2 separate regions of the Homo sapiens genome follow, and region 2 is linked to region 1. The links are contacts of gene promoters, found by promoter capture Hi-C in human tissues and cell types (Jung and others, 2019). All regions are on one chromosome and are shown on one strand. The core of a region is centred on a gene start or on the middle of the fragment in contact, and the rest is flanking DNA. Distances in the headings are between cores, read along the strand shown. Region 1 holds the start of REXO1 (RNA exonuclease 1 homolog). Region 2 holds the start of APC2 (APC regulator of Wnt signaling pathway 2).

What was found. The method cuts DNA at HindIII sites, captures the fragments that hold promoters and counts their contacts. A contact is called where the count stands out against the background at its distance.
Region 2: the fragment with the promoter of APC2 here is called in contact with the fragment with the promoter of REXO1 in region 1 in 1 of the 25 tissues and cell types used here (dorsolateral prefrontal cortex).

The regions. Positions count from the first base shown.
Region 1 is chr19:1,846,889-1,851,041 of GRCh38, reverse strand. It overlaps REXO1 (RNA exonuclease 1 homolog), which reads left to right and starts at 2,559. Exons shown (of 16, transcript NM_020695.4): 1 at 2,559-2,840. The coding sequence starts at 2,684. RefSeq lists enhancers at 2,092-2,171, 2,192-2,341 and a silencer at 2,362-2,831. The HindIII fragment of the contact is 7,366 bases long and covers 1-4,153 here.
Region 2 is chr19:1,447,446-1,451,370 of GRCh38, reverse strand. It overlaps APC2 (APC regulator of Wnt signaling pathway 2), which reads right to left and starts at 1,250. Exons shown (of 15, transcript NM_005883.3): 1 at 1,033-1,250. RefSeq lists a silencer at 1,204-1,403. The HindIII fragment of the contact is 30,284 bases long and covers 1-3,925 here.

The sequences.
Region 1 (4,153 bases), core at 1,310-3,809:
CCGTGAACACCTGGGGCAAGTCTGGTTCCTCCTCTGCCCGCAACCCTCCATGGCTCCCACTGCCCTCACAGTCAAAGCCCAAGTCCTCCCTGAGGCCCATAGGGTTCTGCATGACCTGCCCCGTCCTCTCCCTGCTCTTCCCTCCTGCCTCTCTCCCCCTCCTCACCCTGGTCCAGCCACACTGGCCTCCTCGCTGTTCCTCCAACACACCAGGCGCAGTCCTGCCCATGGCCTGTGCCCTCTGCCCGGAATGCTTTTCCTCCAGAAGCCTGCTTGGCTCCCTCATCATCTTTTATTTATTTATTTATCTTTTATTTTTTCGAGACACTGTCTCACTCTGTCACCCAGGCTGGAGTGCAGTGGTGCAATCTTGGCTCACTGCAACCTCCGCCTCCCAGGTTCAAGGGATTCTCCTGCCTCAGCCTCCCGAGTAGCTGGGATTACAGGCATGGGCCACCACACCCAGCTAATTTTTGTAATTTTAGTAGAGATGGGGTTTCACCATGTTAGTCAGGCTGGTCTCGAACTCCTGACCTCAAGTGATCTGCCTGCCTCAGCCTCCCAAAGTGCTGGGATTACAGGCGAGAGGCACCATGCCTGGCCCCTAATTTTCTGTAAAACCGCACAAATCCCGCCTTCCCCATAGAATCACCCAGACCAGCCCTGTGCCCAGTCCAGGCTCTTCTCCTGTTTCTGTTCTCAAAGCACTTTCCACCTGGCTTCAGGCTGTCTCACTTATTGCTGTGTTCATTGTCGGCCTCCCTGCCTACACCATCACCTCCACCAGAGTGGGGTTCTCTGCTCTGCTTATGGATGTTTCTAGCATTTTGTGGCACACAGTAGGTGCTCAGTAACTATTTGCTGAATGAATGACCGACACCAGCCGGCACGGATGGAGCAATCGCATAAATGAGAGTTCATCTCTCACGCATCATCAGGAGCCATGACAGGGAGTCTACGCCTCCACTGCCCATGATAGGACAGCTTTGAGATTAGATCAGGTCCTCTGCAGAGTCGCCCATGACCCATCCCAACCCACGTCCCCTCATCATTGCATCCTGTCATTTATTTATAATTGTGGTAAAATCACATGCACATAACATAAAATTTGTCATCTTAACCATTGTATTGTTATTTGAGACGGACTGTCACTCTGTCACCCAGGCTGGAGTGCAGTGGTGCAATCTTGGCTCACTGCAACCTCCGCTTCCCAGGTTCAAGTGATTCTCCTGCTTCAGCCTCCCAAGTAGTTGGGACTACAGGCGCCCGCCACCACGCCCAGCTAATTTTTGTATTTTTAATAGAGGTGGGGTTTCGCCATCTTGGCCAGGCTGGTCTCAAACTCCTGACCTCGGTTGATCTTCCCTCCTCGGCCTCCCAAAGAGCTGGGATTACAGGCGTGAGCCATCGCGCCCAGCTAATTTTTGTATTTTTAGTAGGACAGGGTTTTGCCATATTGGCCAAGCTGGTCTTGAAATCCTGGGCTCAAGTGATCCACCCGCCTCAGCCTCCCAGAGTGTTGGGATTACAGACATGAGCCACTGTGCCCGACCTAAGACTTTGCTTTCTATTCTTTTTGGGTGTATACCCAGGAATAGAGTTGCTCATAGGGTAATTCTGTTTAACTTTTTCCATCTCTACACAAAATACAAAAAATTAGCCAGGCATGATGGTGCACACCTGTGGTTTTAGCTACTCGGGAGGCTGAGGTGGGAGAATCACCTGAGCCAGGGAAGTCGAGGCTGCAGTGAGCCGTGATCGCACCACTGCTCTCCAGCCTGGGTGACAGAGCAAGACCCTGTCTCTTAAAAACAAACTTTTTGGGTTTTTTGTTTTACATAGCAGTGGCACTATTTTACAATCCCACCAAAATGCACCAGGTTAAACTTCCCATTAAGACGTGGGCCTACTCCACCAGACTACAGAGTTGCCCCATCCCAGCCTTGTTCCTCGTTTGTCTGTTAAAATGCACCCTCTAGCTGGTATACAGTAGGCGCTCAATATTTGTTGAACAAATGAGTGAACGTGGACCTGGTCATTAGACTGATGACAAGAGTCGAGGTTGGGGAGATTAAGGCGTTTCTTGAGAGCCAGCTGTATACCAGGGCGAGGGGATTTTTAAAGACTGTGAACGGAGTAATTCAACCATGAGTTTCACCTGGCCCAGGTTTAAGGCCACCTCCCCGCAGAACTCTCCTCGTCCAGCAGAGGGCGCCTTAAGGTGATATGCTAACGAAAGGAAATAATATGCAAATGAGTAATAGCGGGCCCCGCGGGGCTTTTTTGGTCAGGCGCGCCGTGGACAGCCCTGGCGCCGCAGGGGCCTGGGGCTCAAGATGGCGCCGCTACAGCCGCCGAAGGTCGGGCGGCGGCGCTGGCGAGGCTCCCGGAGACCGCAGGCAGGGCAGCCCCTGCCCTCCTTACTTCCTCCCGCGGCCGTCTGTCCCGGCCCAGGGGTCCGTCACCAGCCTTGGTCGCGCAGGAGCAGGCGTTTCTGAGCAGGCGCGCTGCGGGCAGCCCCTCCCGGGGTCCCTTGCGGCGGCGTCCCGAGGGCCTCCGGGGGCCTCGGAGCAAGATGGCGGCGGCGGGGTCCGTGAGGCGCGGGCGGCGGCGACCGCGGCGCCAGTGAGGGGGCCCTGGGGCCCGGGCGGCTCCGGGCCGGGGCCCCGCCGCGGGACGGACCATGCTACGCTCCACTGGCTTCTTCCGGGCCATTGACTGCCCCTATTGGTCTGGGGCGCCCGGGGGGCCCTGCCGGCGGCCCTACTGCCACTTCCGGCACCGCGGGGCCCGGGGCTCCGGCGCGCCCGGTGACGGCGGAGAGGCGCCCCCCGCAGCAGGTAATGCCCGCCCGCCTGCTTGCCTTGGGCTCGGCTCCCCTGCCCGGGTCTGGACCCCACCCCGGTCCCGCCCGGGGTCCCCGTTCTCGGCCCAGCCTCCTCCCCACACGTTCGCGGGCGACGGTTTTCCCAGTCGGGACCGGAACCACCCACCCTGGGACCCGGTGCAAAGCACTAGATGTCCCTAAGCCTTCGTCTTCACGAGTGTGAAATGTCAACTAGGAGGACGCGTCCTGCCAGGGCTGTCTAGAGGGCGGAGTGCGAGCGCATGTTGAGTACCGGGCACCGGGCCTGACACAAGGGGGCTCGGGAGACGGGCGCGGCCGGCGCTAGGCAGGTCCTGGACTCCTCCTGCCCCTGATTGGCGCCCGCCGCTTCCCGGACCCCATGTGCTTGTGGCCGCCCTTGTTTATTTCCATGACGTTTCCTCCGGCCGCGCCTCTGGCAGCGGCCACCTCAGTCTCCAGTCGTTGAGTTAGGATGGTCCGAGGATCGTCTCTTGTGTTTGTCGAGCCCTGTGTCCAGCATGACTGGCAGGGAGGAAGTCAAAGCTTACTCGAGTGGGCTCCGAGGAATTCCATGCTTTTGGTCGGGCAGAGGACGTTGGTGGACTCCACCTCACAGCGTCATGGTGGTTTTCATCGTCATGGCAGCGTTTCTTGGAGGAGATGTGGGATTTGGATTGGAGAAAAAGAGGGACATCGCAAGGAAAGTCGTGGAGGGAGGGTTATCGAGTGTGATGTCATTCAGACTCCCCTGTTACCTCTGTCCCTTGATAGTGGCTCTCTGCTTCACCCAGCCCCTGACTTCCTTCGTCCCAGATTTCCTCATTGGGCGTGAGTTTCAAGCACTGTTTTTACTTTAACCATGAAACAGTCTCAGCTCAGAACCTTTTCCTGCAAAAGAGAAACATCTTCTCTAGGATTTAAGAATAGGTTTATTTTCCTGTTTTGCCAGAAAAGGTAGCATTTTTTTCTGATTTCCCTGATAAGTGTGCTTGGGACACCTGCACCTGTGGGCGGTTGTTTGCAGGTGGACAGATGCAAGCAATCACTTGTCAGCTCCCCACAGCCCAGCGTCTTCGCTGTGTTTGAGGCGGGGGATTCAGAGCTGCGTACGATGCCGGCTGTGCTCTCAGGGACCTGCCGACAGCTGTGCCTACAGATCCCGTAGCATAGGTCGTGATGTCCTGGGAGCACGCAGCCGGCTTTGGCGGGGGCTGGGAGTTGGTGAAGAAGGCAACGCGTGGGAGAGGCTTCTCGGAGGCTGTGACACCAGACTCACGATGCTCATTTTAACCCTATTTTTAGAGA
Region 2 (3,925 bases), core at 1-2,500, 400 kb after region 1:
GGTCACCATCCCATGCCCAGCCAGGTGGAAGGACCAGATGACGTGCAAAGCAACACATGTCTGCCTCCTGCTCCCCAAACCCAGGCCTCCCCCACGTGGTTCTTCTCAGCTGACCGAAGCCAAGCCTCAGACACCTTCCCTCTCCCCACATTCGGTGGTCATTTCTGCATCCTCATCAGACTAAGCTAGTCCCTCCAAGCTCTGCCCAGCGGGATCATGCCTCCCCCAGCTCCTGACACCCCTCTGTGAGGACATTCTGATCAGCCTCTTCCTGGCCTCCCACAGTCCCCCATGCACAGCCAGAGGGAGCTTTAAACGTCACAAGTGAGATCCCATTTCTCCCATGCTCAAACACCTTCCATGGCTCCCCAGTGCCCTCAGGATACGCTCCGACTCCTCCATGTACACCGCGACTCACTTAGAGGCTGGAGGCTCTCTTCTCTCAGGCCTTTGCACGTGCAGTTGCCCTGCCTAGAGCACCTTTTCTAAGTCCTGCCATCCCACACAGTGCAGCTTCTTCCACGAAGCTCTTCTGCCTACTTTCACCCCCAGGTTGCATCGTGTAGCCTCCTGGGGGCCTTCCTGAGCGATCACTCCCTGAAGGCACCATGACTGGGGGCTGGTCTTATTGAGCGGGCTGCATTTCAGGGGAGGGAGGCACAGGTATGGGAAGCCAGGCCCAAAGGGGCCTTTCTCCTTCCTTTAATCCAAACCCCCTCTTTCCAGAGAGGGAAACTGACACCCAGAGAGGTGCAGCAACACCCCCGAAGACACACCACTGGCCTGCCCATCCCTTCCTCCGATCACCTCAGGGAGGTCCGGATGGTGAAGCCCGTGAGTGGGTGTGTGCGCAGGACCGGCTGCAGAAACGCTGACGCCCAGCTCACCGGGACTCAGTTTCCCCTCCAGCTCCCACTCTGGGGAAATGGAGGGTCCAGAGTCTGTGCTGACGGGCAATGCTGAGAGCCAGGGATGGAAACCTCGACGCGAGGCGGAGGTCGCGCCCCTGCCCTCCTCCCCGAGGACACACACCCGCTTACGTGCAGCTGGGCTGGCGGGGCGCCTGGGTCTGGGGCCTCCTCCCTCTGCGCGGCTCCGCGGGCCCCACCGGAAATCCCGGCCCGGGGTGGCCTCGGAGCGCGCGGGCTCCGGGGTCTCCGCGGCGCGGGCAGGGGCTCCGGGGCGGACAAAGCCCGGTCCGGGCCTGGGCAGGCGGCGCTGCCGCTCCTAGCGCTGGGCGAGACCACCGCGAGCGGGGGAGGATGCGGGATGAGGGATGCGGGTGAGACAGCCAATGAGGGCGCGGGAAGACGGGCTGGTGCCATGGCAACAGCCAATGGCGGCCCGGGGCGGGGACCGGCGTCGGCCGCGGGGCGTCGGGCCTCCGCGCGGGCTCAGGGGCCGTGAGTGCGGGGGGCGAAACCCCCCCGAGGGAAGGGGGTGCCCCGAGGACCAAGATTCCTGTGTCCCGCACTTTATTGCAGGGTGCAACGGCCTCTTAAAACCTCCTGCGTCTGGATTTGCAGAATTGGAGAGTAAAACATCAAATCCTGGATGTTACATCAGCATCTTGGCGGGGGAGGGGTTTCCAGGGCAGTGGCCGGGCTGGGGCCAGGCCTGCACCCACCCCACAGGTCCAGCCTGGCCTGGTGCAGGTGCGTCAGGGTGGGACAGGGTTCGGGTCCAGGCTGGAGCTCCCTGAGGGTCCTGCCTGGTGGGGAGGGGAGAGGGGAGGAGGGGCAGGGCCACTGGGGAGCACCTGGGACGCTGCATCTCCCCACATTTCTCCCTGTCTCCCCAACGGAGCGTCAGATCCTCCTGTAACTCCGTTGCTCTTCATGTCCCTCTCTCTTTCTGTCTCCCCCTCTGTTCTCTGTCTCTCAATCTCTGTCTCCATGTGTCTCTGCCCCTGGTGGGTGGCACACTTAATTCACCCTCACGGACCGAAGGCCAGAGGAGGGAAGGGCCAGGGGTCCCAGGAGTCGCCATCTCCAGGTGTCCTGGATGCTCCATGAGTCCCTGGAAGCCATTTGAAGGTTTAACACACAGAGCCCGTCCCTGCAGCTCGGAGCAGCCCTTCCTGCTCTGGACACAGACTCACAGCACAGAAAGGGAGGCGACTGGGGCCAGAAGAGTGATTTTTTTCCGTGCTGGGCAGGCAGGGCAAATCATTCGCCGCTCAACCCTCGGTTTCCTCCTCTGTAAAATGGAGAGGAGGCGGAAGATTCTGCAAGGGCTGGTGCAGGGAATGATAGGAGAGGGTGGGAAGGTCCGAGTATTCAAGGCCCCGTAGACAAAGGCAAGGGAGGACCCGTGCTGTTTCCTGTTGGGCCTTGAGCTGAAGACCCGAGGGCCTTGTCCCGGGCCAGCACTGCCAGGGGCTGAGAGCCCTTCGGCCTGGCTGTCTGGGAGCCCCCAGAGCTGGACGCAGCTGTCCCCACTGGTTGGGTCTGGGGAGGCAATGCAGTGGGCAGACACAGGGGATCTTTTCTTTTTTCTTTTTCTTTTTTTTCTTTTTTTTTTTTTTGAGACGGAGTCTTGCTCTGTAGCCCAGGCTGGAGTGCAGTGGCACGTTCTCGGCTCACTGCAAGCTCCGCCTCCCAGGTTCACGCCATTCTCCTGCCTCAGCCTCCCGAGTAGCTGGGACTACAGGCGCCCGCCACCACGCCCAGGCTAATTTTTTGTATTTTTTAGTAGAGACGGGATTTCACGTTAGCCAGGATGGTCTCGATCTCCTGACCTCGTGATCCACCCGCCTCGGCCTCCCAAAGTGCTGGGATTACAGGCGTGAACCACCACGCCCGGCCTTTTTTTTTTTTTTTTTTTAGATGGGGTCTTGCTCTGTCCCCCAGGCTGCAGTGCAGTGGCGCCATCTCGGCTCACCGCAACCTCCGCCTCCTGGGTTCAAGTGATTCTCCTGCCTCAGACTCCTCAGTAACTGGGATTACAGGCATGTACCACCTTGCCAGCTAATTTTTGTATTTTTAATAGAGAGGGGGTTTCACCGTGTTGGTCGGGCTGGTCTCAAACTCCTGACCTCATGATCCGCCCGCCTCGAAGGGGATTTTTTTCTGGAGGCTGGAAGGCTGCCCTGAGAAGTGAACAGCAGTGATCAGGAGGAGAGGCGTTCCAGGCTGAGGGAAGATCAATGCATGCTTGGGACACAGGGGGTGTCTGGTGGAGCCATGGGGTAGGGCGCGTGGTGGGGTTTGACAGGTCAAGCCGGGGCAGAGCTGGGCGAGGCTGAAATGGGGTTGGGGATGCAGAGCCCAGGGCCCTGGCTTCAGCTCAGCCTTGTTGTCCCTGTGTCCCCCTGGGCATGTCTCTCTCTGGCCTCGGTTTCCAGTCTTGTTTACTGAAGGGTGGGTTGGATGATCCCTGCCTCCCCCAAAGAGGAACTAAGTCCCACCTCCCTGTGTAGTTTCAGATGTCTCAGCTCCCCAGGCCCCCATCAGGCAGGGGTTTGGGGGATCCAAGGTCAGTCCTGTCCTTGTATACATGGGGAAACTGAGGCCTGGGCCAGGGAACGTGTTGCCTGAGTTCACCTGTGCCAGCCAGGCCTCCGGAGTGACACTGAACCTCCCTTCTTATCCCTCTGGGGGTGGCCAGGGCCTGGAGGGCTGAGGGTACATGGGGGCTGAGACCCCAAGACAAGATGCCCTTGGCCCCAAATCTACAAAACATTATGTCCCTGAACAATCCCCCCCCACACACTAAAATCCTCGACCCTGTAAATCCTTGAACCACAGCCACACTCAGACATCACCAGACATTTCAGAGCCTCAAGAACCCCCCACAGCCCCCTAGGACTTCAGGAGACTGAGAGAGGTCTCCCCCTTCTCCCACTGCAGAACGCAGGGCCTAGCCCAAGACCCCGACCTAGGCTCCTCCCTGGGGTCCTCCACGCCCCCTACTGCTGCTGGGC